Linked DNA regions of Homo sapiens: region 2 is linked to region 1. The links are contacts of gene promoters, found by promoter capture Hi-C in blood cells and fetal thymus (Javierre and others, 2016). All regions are on one chromosome and are shown on one strand. The core of a region is centred on a gene start or on the middle of the fragment in contact, and the rest is flanking DNA. Distances in the headings are between cores, read along the strand shown.

The links. The method cuts DNA at HindIII sites, captures the fragments that hold promoters and counts their contacts. A CHiCAGO score of 5 or more calls a contact.
Region 2: a contact is called between a fragment that was not itself captured here and the fragment with the promoter of LINC02108 in region 1, in 1 of 17 cell types (endothelial precursors). The highest score is 5.2, in endothelial precursors.

Annotation. Positions count from the first base shown.
Region 1 is chr5:58,556,428-58,560,850 of GRCh38, reverse strand. It overlaps LINC02108 (long intergenic non-protein coding RNA 2108), which reads left to right and starts at 2,608. Exons shown (of 4, transcript NR_109904.1): 1 at 2,608-2,665. The HindIII fragment of the contact is 10,011 bases long and covers 1-4,325 here.
Region 2 is chr5:58,807,103-58,811,525 of GRCh38, reverse strand. The region is part of intron 3 of RAB3C (RAB3C, member RAS oncogene family); the gene reads right to left. Among named protein-coding and RNA genes, the nearest start is that of RAB3C, 230 kb to the right of the region's middle. The HindIII fragment of the contact is 1,280 bases long and covers 1,540-2,819 here.

The sequences.
Region 1 (4,423 bases), core at 1,359-3,858:
GATTTTAAAACTACTGCCTTCTATTGTGAGGGATCTTCTTTTCACATTGGACATGTTGGGGTTGTTCCAGGGTATACGCCAGTATTTTTCCTGCCCTCTCTCTGCTACCTCCCTAGGCAATCTCATCTGCATCCTAGCTTCAATTTCCATTGATACAGTAATGCCTCTTAGATCCATATTTTGAACCTAGATCATCTCCTCTCCTTTAAACTGGCATAGCTAACTGCTGACTGGTGATCTCCAACAGTATGCCCGTAAGTACCTCAAACATAGTCTTCCTCTGCTCCACACTTAATCCTTCTTATTTCTCATCTTTGTGAATGGTCCCATCATCCACCTACTTATTTAGGTGAGAAATCATGTTTTGACAATGACTTTCAATCTCCATCATTCCTCAAATTCAATCAATCACCACGTATTGTTCACTCCACTGTCTAAATATCTCTCCAATGCAATTCTCTCCATTCCCACTGCTTTCACCCAAACTAGGTCACCATGATTAGTCATTTGAATTATTTCTTCTAGTTCCCAATCTTTATTTTCTCTCAATCAATTCTCCACATTGCATTCTGAATGATTTTCCCCAAATCTAAAAGTGATCAAGTGTTATCTATACTAAAAACCCTTAAGTGGCTTCTGTGTGCCCAGCAACTTGACATGACTCTCAAGACTTCATGATCTAGCTTCTGCTCATTTCCATAGTTTTTATCTCTCAGCACTCCACCTTCACTCTCTGTGCACCAGTTTTGCAGAAGTTTCTACCAGTCTTCCATTGTACCATGCTCCCTCTTACCTGTAGCCTTTAGCACAGGGTAGGTATTCTGCTAGAAATGCTTTATCACTGTACTGCCTGCAACACGCATGTGCACACACACACTTTACTTTCTTAATTCATACTCAGTTTTTCAACTCTCAAATTAAACTTCAGTCTTCCAGGAAACTTTTCTTACTCGTAACACTCTGAAGTCTAAGCTAGGTATCTGTACTTTTACCTTCATAAGGCTGTCTTGTAATCACTTAGCTTCTCCTGTAACATTTCCACTAAACCATACAATTGGTAGGAACAAGGCCTGAGTCTGTCTTGTGTATCCCTTGCTTCTCATATATTAAGTCAGGGTTCAACTAGAGTAACGGAACCAGTAAGAAATAGATGTTAAGTGATTTATTGCAAGAAATAGACCTAAGTGATTTTGGGGACTGGCTGGACAAGTCTGAAATCTGTAGGGCTGGATATCAGGAGGGACAGTTTGGAACTTGGGCATGAGTTGAACTGAAGTCTGCAGATATTGAACTCTAAGCCTCAGTGTCCTAGTCTGTAAAATAGGAATAATGCTAATAGCTACCTCATAGGGCTTGCTTTTCTTCTTCAGGGAAGCCTTAGCTTTGCTCTCAGGGCCTTTAAATGGACTGAATAAATCAAGCCCACTCAGATTATGTAGTATAATCTCCCTTACTTAAAATCAATTGATTGTGGACTTTAATAACACACAAAATGCCTTCATGGCAACACTTGGATTAACATTTGATTGAATAATTAGGGACTGTGGTCTAGCCAAGTTGACAAATAAAACTAATCATCACATCTTCATATTAAGTATAGAGTGGGCACTCAGTAATTATGAGTGAAATGAACAGACACCCAGACTATTTTGTTCAACAAGAGCATTTGCTGGGTACATCTGAAGTGTTCCACTTTGTACTACTTAATGCAGCACTATCATATTATTTATGTCTTTTACTTATCAAAGTTTGTGATTTTTTTTTCCTCTTGGTACATCTGAAAGAAAGAAAATTATGTGCCCCATGCTATTTATGACCCCTCAGATTTCCTTAGAAAGAATACATTCAGGCCAGGTGCAGTGGCTCACACCTGTAATCCCAACATTTCGGGAGGCTGAGTTGGGAGGATCACTTAAGCCCAGGAGTTTGAGGTTACAGTAAGCTATGATTGTGCCACTGCACTCCAGCCTGGATGACAGAAGACCTTTTCTCTTACAAAACCAAAAAAGAATCCTTATCAATTCATGTCATTAAATGTGACAAATGTTGAGCTTCCTGAGGTTGGGGCTGCATGTTAACATTTGTGTGCTTTCTCAGCCTTACCACAGTGTATGTGTGCAGTAATTGTTCAATGCAGCTCTGTTGTAAAAAACTAAACCTACTAAGATTTCTTTAAATGATCAATTTATAGCATTTCCTATTGCATTTATGAATACTTGCAATTGATCTTGGACTATTATAATAAATGCCTTAAAAGAAGTGAAAATATACATTTGGGAGTAAATGAAAGATTTTTTCTCCAGCATCAATGCAATATAAGATTACATGTTATAATTAATAAATGTGAAATAATGTTTAATGTAAACATTATATATGTGAACAATACTGTGAATACAATGTGATGCTTATCAAAATCAGCTAAAATAAATGTTTTTAAGATTACATATTATGTGACTTGATCAGAAGAAGGAGGAAGGAAGTTTAGCATATTTTATCAATTCTAAGATGTCATCAATTGATTACGAGATACATCATTATTTTATTTACCATTAAGAACAAAAGAAAAGGGGGGAGGAGCCAAGACGGCCGAATAGGAACAGCTCCGGTCTACAGCTCCCAGCGTGAGCCACGCAGAAGACGGATGATTTCTGCATTTCCATCTGAGGTACCGGGTTCATCTCACTAGGGAGTGTCAGACAGTGGGTGCAGGCCAGTGGGTGCGCGCACGGTGCGCGAGCCAAAGCAGGGCGAGGCATTGCCTCACCTGGGAAGCTCAAGGGGTCAGGGAGTTCCCTTTCCGAGTCAAAGAAAGGGGTAACGGACGCACCTGGAAAATCAGTTCACTCCCACCCGAATATTGCGCTTTTCAGACCGGCTTAAAAAACGGCGCACCACGAGACTATATCCCACACCTGGCTCGGAGTGTCCTACGCCCACAGAGTCTCCCTGATTGCTAGCACAGCAGTCTGAGATCGAACTGCAAGGCGGCAGCGAGGCTGTGGGAGGGGCGCCCGCCATTGCCCAGGCTTGCTTAGGTAAACAAAGCAGCTCGAACTGGGTGGAGCCCACCACAGCTCAAGGAGGCCTGCCTGCCACTGTAGGCTCCACCTCTGGGGGCAGGGCACAGACAAACAAAAAGACAGCAGTAACCTCTGCGACTTAAATGTCCCTGTCTGACAGCTTTGAAGGGAGCAGTGGTTCTCCCAGCACCCAGCTGGAGATCTGAGAACCGTCAGACTGCCTCCTCAAGTGGGTCCCTGACCCCTGACCCCTGAGCAGCCTAACTGGGAGGCACCCCCAGGAGGGGCACACTGACACCTCACACGGCAGGGTATTCCAACAGACCTGCAGCTGAGGGTCCTGTCTGTTAGAAGGAAAACTAACAAACAGAAAGGACATCCACACCGAAAACCCATCTGTACATCACCATCATCAAAGACCAAAAGTAGATAAAACCACAAAGATGGGGAAAAAACAGAACAGAAAAACTGGAAACTCTAAAACGCAGAGCGCCTCTTCTCCTCCAAAGGAACGCAGTTCCTCACCAGCAACGGAACAAAGCTGGATGGAGAATGACTTTGAAGAGCTGAGAGAAGAAGGCTTCAGACGATCAAATTACTCTGAGCTACGGGAGGACATTCAAACCAAAGGCAAAGAAGTTGAAAACTTTGAAAAAAATTTAGATGAATGTATAACTAGAATAACCAATACAGAGAAGTGCTTAAAGGAGCTGATGGAGCTGAAAACCAAGGCTCGAGAACTACGTGAAGAATGCAGAAGCCTCAGGAGCCGATGCGATCAACTGGAAGAAAGGGTATCAGCAATGGAAGATGAAATGAATGAAATGAAGCGAGAAGGGAAGGTTAGAGCAAAAACAATAAAAAGAAATGAGCAAAGCCTCCAAGAAAAATGGGACTATGTGAAAAGACCAAATCTACGTCTGATTGGTGTAACTGAAAGTGATGGGGAGAATGGAACCAAGTTGGAAAACACTCTGCAGGATATTATCCAGGAGAACTTCCCCAATCTAGCAAGGCAGGCCAACATTCAGATTCAGGAAATACAGAGAACACCACAAAGATACTCCTCGAGAAGAGCAACTCCAAGACACATAATTGTCAGATTCACCAAAGTTGAAATGAAGGAAAAAATGTTAAGGGCAGCTAGAGAGAAAGGTCGGGTTACCCTCAAAGGGAAGCCCATCAGACTAACAGCGGATCTCTCGGCAGAAACTCTACAAGCCAGAAGAGAGTGGGGGCCAATATTCAACATTCTTAAAGAAAAGAATTTTCAACCCAGAATTTCATATCCAGCCAAACTAAGCTTCATAAGTGAACGAGAAATAAAATACTTCACAGACAAGCAAATGCTGAGAGATTTTGTCACCACCAGGCCTGCCCTAAAAGAGCTCCTGAAGAAAGCG
Region 2 (4,423 bases), core at 930-3,429, 250 kb before region 1:
ACAGATTTGGAAGAGCCAGAACTATCTGTTTCCTTTCAACACGACATTTACCTTTGTGACCCCTCTCAATAAATGTTTCCAAAGCATTTTTTTAATTGATTGTCATAAAAATCACTATAAAATCCTCTCTCTATCTTACACACACAGACACACACACACATACACACACATACACACACACGCAAAATCTAACCTTTAAAATGACATTGCTTTTCAAATGAGCCAGAGCAAAGAGGTTTTGTCATTGTAGAGAACTCTGACCTCAGGAAACCAAGAAATGAGAAAAGGCCAAGCTCCACAGTTGCCATTTGCCCTTGGTTGTAGAGAGTAATTGCTCTTCAGTCTTTCAGACCTCCTATCAAATAATGCATCCTGTAATGGGTTCAGCTGCAGGCTGTGCATACAAACCATAGCAGTTTTGCTAGTATACTTTATCACAGTGGAGAAGTGGTTCATTAAACCCTATGCTCAGTTCAGAGGCTCAAATTAAGTCCTGGTCTTACTGTGCCTCCGTATGGTTAGAATGATCCATGTTCACACCACATTCCTTGGAGGCTGACAAGGCCATGGTTGTGCCGTTTTGGTGGGAGCAAATTTCAGAAGTGCACCATTAAAATGAGTGAATAAGGGGCTGGGCACGGTGGCTCATGCCTGTAATCCCAGCACTTTGGGATGCCAAGGCGGGTGGATCACTTGAAGTCAGGAGTTCGAGACCAGCCTGGCCAACATGGCGAAACCCCGTCTCTACTAAACATACAAAAAATAGCTGGGCATGGTGATGCATGCCTGTAGTCCCAGTTACTGAGGAGGCTGAGGCAGGAGAATCGCTTGAACCTCGGAGGTGGGGGTTGCAGTGAGTGGAAATCATGCCACTATACTCCAGCCTGGGTGACACAGTGAGGCAAGCTACAACTGATGCCTAAGAGCAATACATGAACTAAAAGATATATCTCATGCATATATTACCATCCATTCTTGAAGTATACCAGTATCCTTCTATCACTGCTTTAGAAGGAAGTGTCCAATATTACCGGGCTTCTTGAGAAGATCATATTAAATAGTAATGATCATATCTCAAAACAAAACAAAACAAAGTAACTTCTAAGAAAACACACACACACACACACACACACACACACAGAGAGAGAGAGAGAGAGAGAGCACACAGAGTACTTTTGTACCAGTAGAAGCACTTTTGTCTCTTGACCACTATTTTCAAGGTGTGCCTGTCATTTGTTTGCTCTTGAATATGTTTCTTGCCCTCCCTGTGCTGTGTCCTGTATGCTAAGAGGCTGATCCTTGCAGTCTGTGTTTTCCTGGCTGCCTTGCCAGCTGGTTTCTGATGGGAGACACTGGCAGGAGACTGGACTGAAGGAGGAGGGGTGAAGCTTTGAGTGTTTCTCCCCGGCTTTCAGCAGCTTCTCTAGGAGGGGCAACAGCTCTATTGTTCCACTTCTGCTGGGTGGCTGCCCCAGCCTGTGGGTCAAGGAACACCACAAATACCTGGGCTGCTTTATTGCTCCAACTGTTCTGCAAGCTTCATCTGCCACAAACAATGTGAAACGGAAGAACAGTAAATAATAAAGTTAATATAACTATCAGCTTTCCTAGCTGTCTACTAGTTTGCAGTATGTCTTAGCACAGGCTGCTATAACAAAATGCTATAGACTGGGTGGCTTAAGCAACAGACGTTTATTTCTCTCAGTTTGGAGTCTGGGAATTCCAAGCTCAAAGTAAGACTGATTCAGTTCCTGGTGAGGGATCTCTCTCTGGTGCAGAGAGATTTCTCTTGTGTCTGTTCCTACAAGGGCACTAATCCCACAGTGGTGTGTGTCAGGGGGGCACCCACATGACCGTGTTTAAAACTAATTACCTCTCAGAGGCTTGACCTCCAAATACCATCACATTGGGTACTGGGGCTTCAACGTGTGAACTTGATGGGTGGGGACACATAAATCTGCATTCATTTTCAAGTTTCAAGGCCAGTAAGAGGGAAATATGAATTTGAGGAGTTTCCTGTAGTGTCTGAAATTCTTCCATTGCTTTTCTTGCCTAGCACTAACTTTTAAAAAGATTCAATGATCATATATTGTACATTTTTCAATTTGTGCCTCTGCTAAGGTTTTTTTTTTTTTTTTTTCTGAGAAAAAGAGCTTTCAAAACCAGAAATCCTTTTTTCTTTCATCAAAAGTGTGCCTTCAAGGAGGCTTCTGGCACAAATTCTTCAGTGACATTTTGAAGTCAAAAGTACCTTTTCCAGAGACAGCCACAGTTCTCCAGGATGTCCTTCTATTTTTATATGAAAAGAAACAATTTTTTGGTCACAATTAAGTATTTCAAACTCAAAATAAGTATTTTACACGAGAATTTGATATTCCTTTTCATTCATACATAGTTTTTCAGCTACACTGAATATTAGCATTCTCTGGGTATGTCACATCCTTGAATTTTGCTGGGCTTTTGCCCTTGCTGTGGCTTATGCTAGAATGTTATTTGGTAGAGAAGCTAGCAACATTATCATCTTATGTTAATGCAAATGCACTGGAGATAAAGAAATCCATGGCTACCAAATTTGGTACATGAAATTGGAGTTAGATGTTTGCTCTACAAATAGGATTTTTATGAACCTCACTTTTGAAATGCTAAGTCAAGAGAGTAGAAGAGTTATGTTGCTGATATTAAAAGCTGTAAGAAACTCTGTGGTTATGGCTAGACATGTTATTAAATACCATAATATTTCAAATAAAAGCAGACCATGGTGAACAAATAAGAAAGAGCATCCACCACGTAGCAGAAAATAACTCAGTCAGCACAAAGCTTTTCAAAGTGATTAGGTTTCAGTTTAAATCAAATACAAATGAGATATGATAATATCCCTTCTAAGTAATTCTATTTTTCACCTCATTATAAATTTCTTAATTGTGTTATAAGTCAAAGAAATTGGAAATTGAAAAGAATTCTTGGGCCACTTAATTTAGCTACCTGCCTGCATAAGATTTGCCCAATGGGTTTACTTAGCAGATCAACCTAAAATAATAAGGTTGGGGGATACTTCAATAATCTGATTTAAAATGTTAGTTTTATTTCCTGAAACAGATATCCAATTTTCTTGTCTTTAATTTTATCTCTGAGCAGTACCTTTTCTCATTTGGAGTCAGGAAAGAATATTTATTCTTTCTGCAACTTTTCTCTGTGTACTGTGTCAAATTCTCCAGAAATCCTGTATCATGTTTTGTCATTTCACAAATCATTTGTTTTGCCTATAGCCAACTAAAGTTATTTCTTTTTTTTTTTTTTTTTTGAGACGGAGTCTTGCTCTGTCACCCAGGCTGGAGTGCAGTGGAGCGATCTCTGCTCACTGCAAGCTCTGCCTCCCAGGTTCACGACATTCTCCTGCCTCAGCCTCTCGAGTAACTGGGACTACAGGCGCCCACCACTACGCCTGGCTAATTTTTTGTATTTTTAGTAGAGATGGGGTTTCACTGTGTTAGGCAGGATGGTCTCGATCTCCTGACCTTGTGATCCACCTGCCTTGGCCTCCCAAAGCACTGGGATTACAGGTGTGAGCCACCGCACCTGGCAAGTTATTTCAAATATCTCAGTAAACACTAGAGTTTTAGAATTTTGAATACATTGGTTTTGCTGAACAGAGTCTGTATTTTTCTACATTTACTATATTTCTTCTTAAATTTTTTTTTTTATTCTACTGGAGAGTACCCACTGTGCTATGGACTGAATTTTGTGTCTTCCCCCAAATTCATATGTTGAAGCCCTAATAATACCCAATGTGATGGTATATGGAGGTCAACCCTCTGGGATGTAATTAGATTTAGACAAGGTCATATGTTTTGCCCCCCCACCATTGTAGTTTTAATCCCTTTATAAGAAGAGACATAAATCTCCTACTCTCTCTCTACCATGTGAGAATGCAAGAAGGCATTTCTCTGCAAACCAGGAAGACAGCTCGTGCCAGGAACTCACTCAGCAGGCACCTTGATCTTGGACTTCCCAGACTCCAAACTCAGAGAAATAAATGTCTGTTGCTTAAGCCACCCAGTCTATGGTATTTTGTTACAGCAGCCTGAGATGACTAAGACCTACTGCATAGTAGCTGCAACTTAGCATGGGGCTTTCAATGTTCTCAGAGCTCACAACATATATCCATTTAGCTGAAATTAATCTTTCTAAAGTTGATACATTATGATGGGAAAAACTCTGGCTATATTAACTCTCTAGGCAGAGACAGATCACCTTCAGTCAGAAAGGTCTTGCTTCCCATCTGCAGAGACCATCCAGGCCATGATGTTTTTTTGTCTGATATGCTGCCTGCTGCTTTAAAAAGCAAATCATCCCAGGAAAAGCAAGAAGCAGCAAGTGTCTAATGGATTCACATGAGATACAGATTAAAGCAACCCTTTCTTGT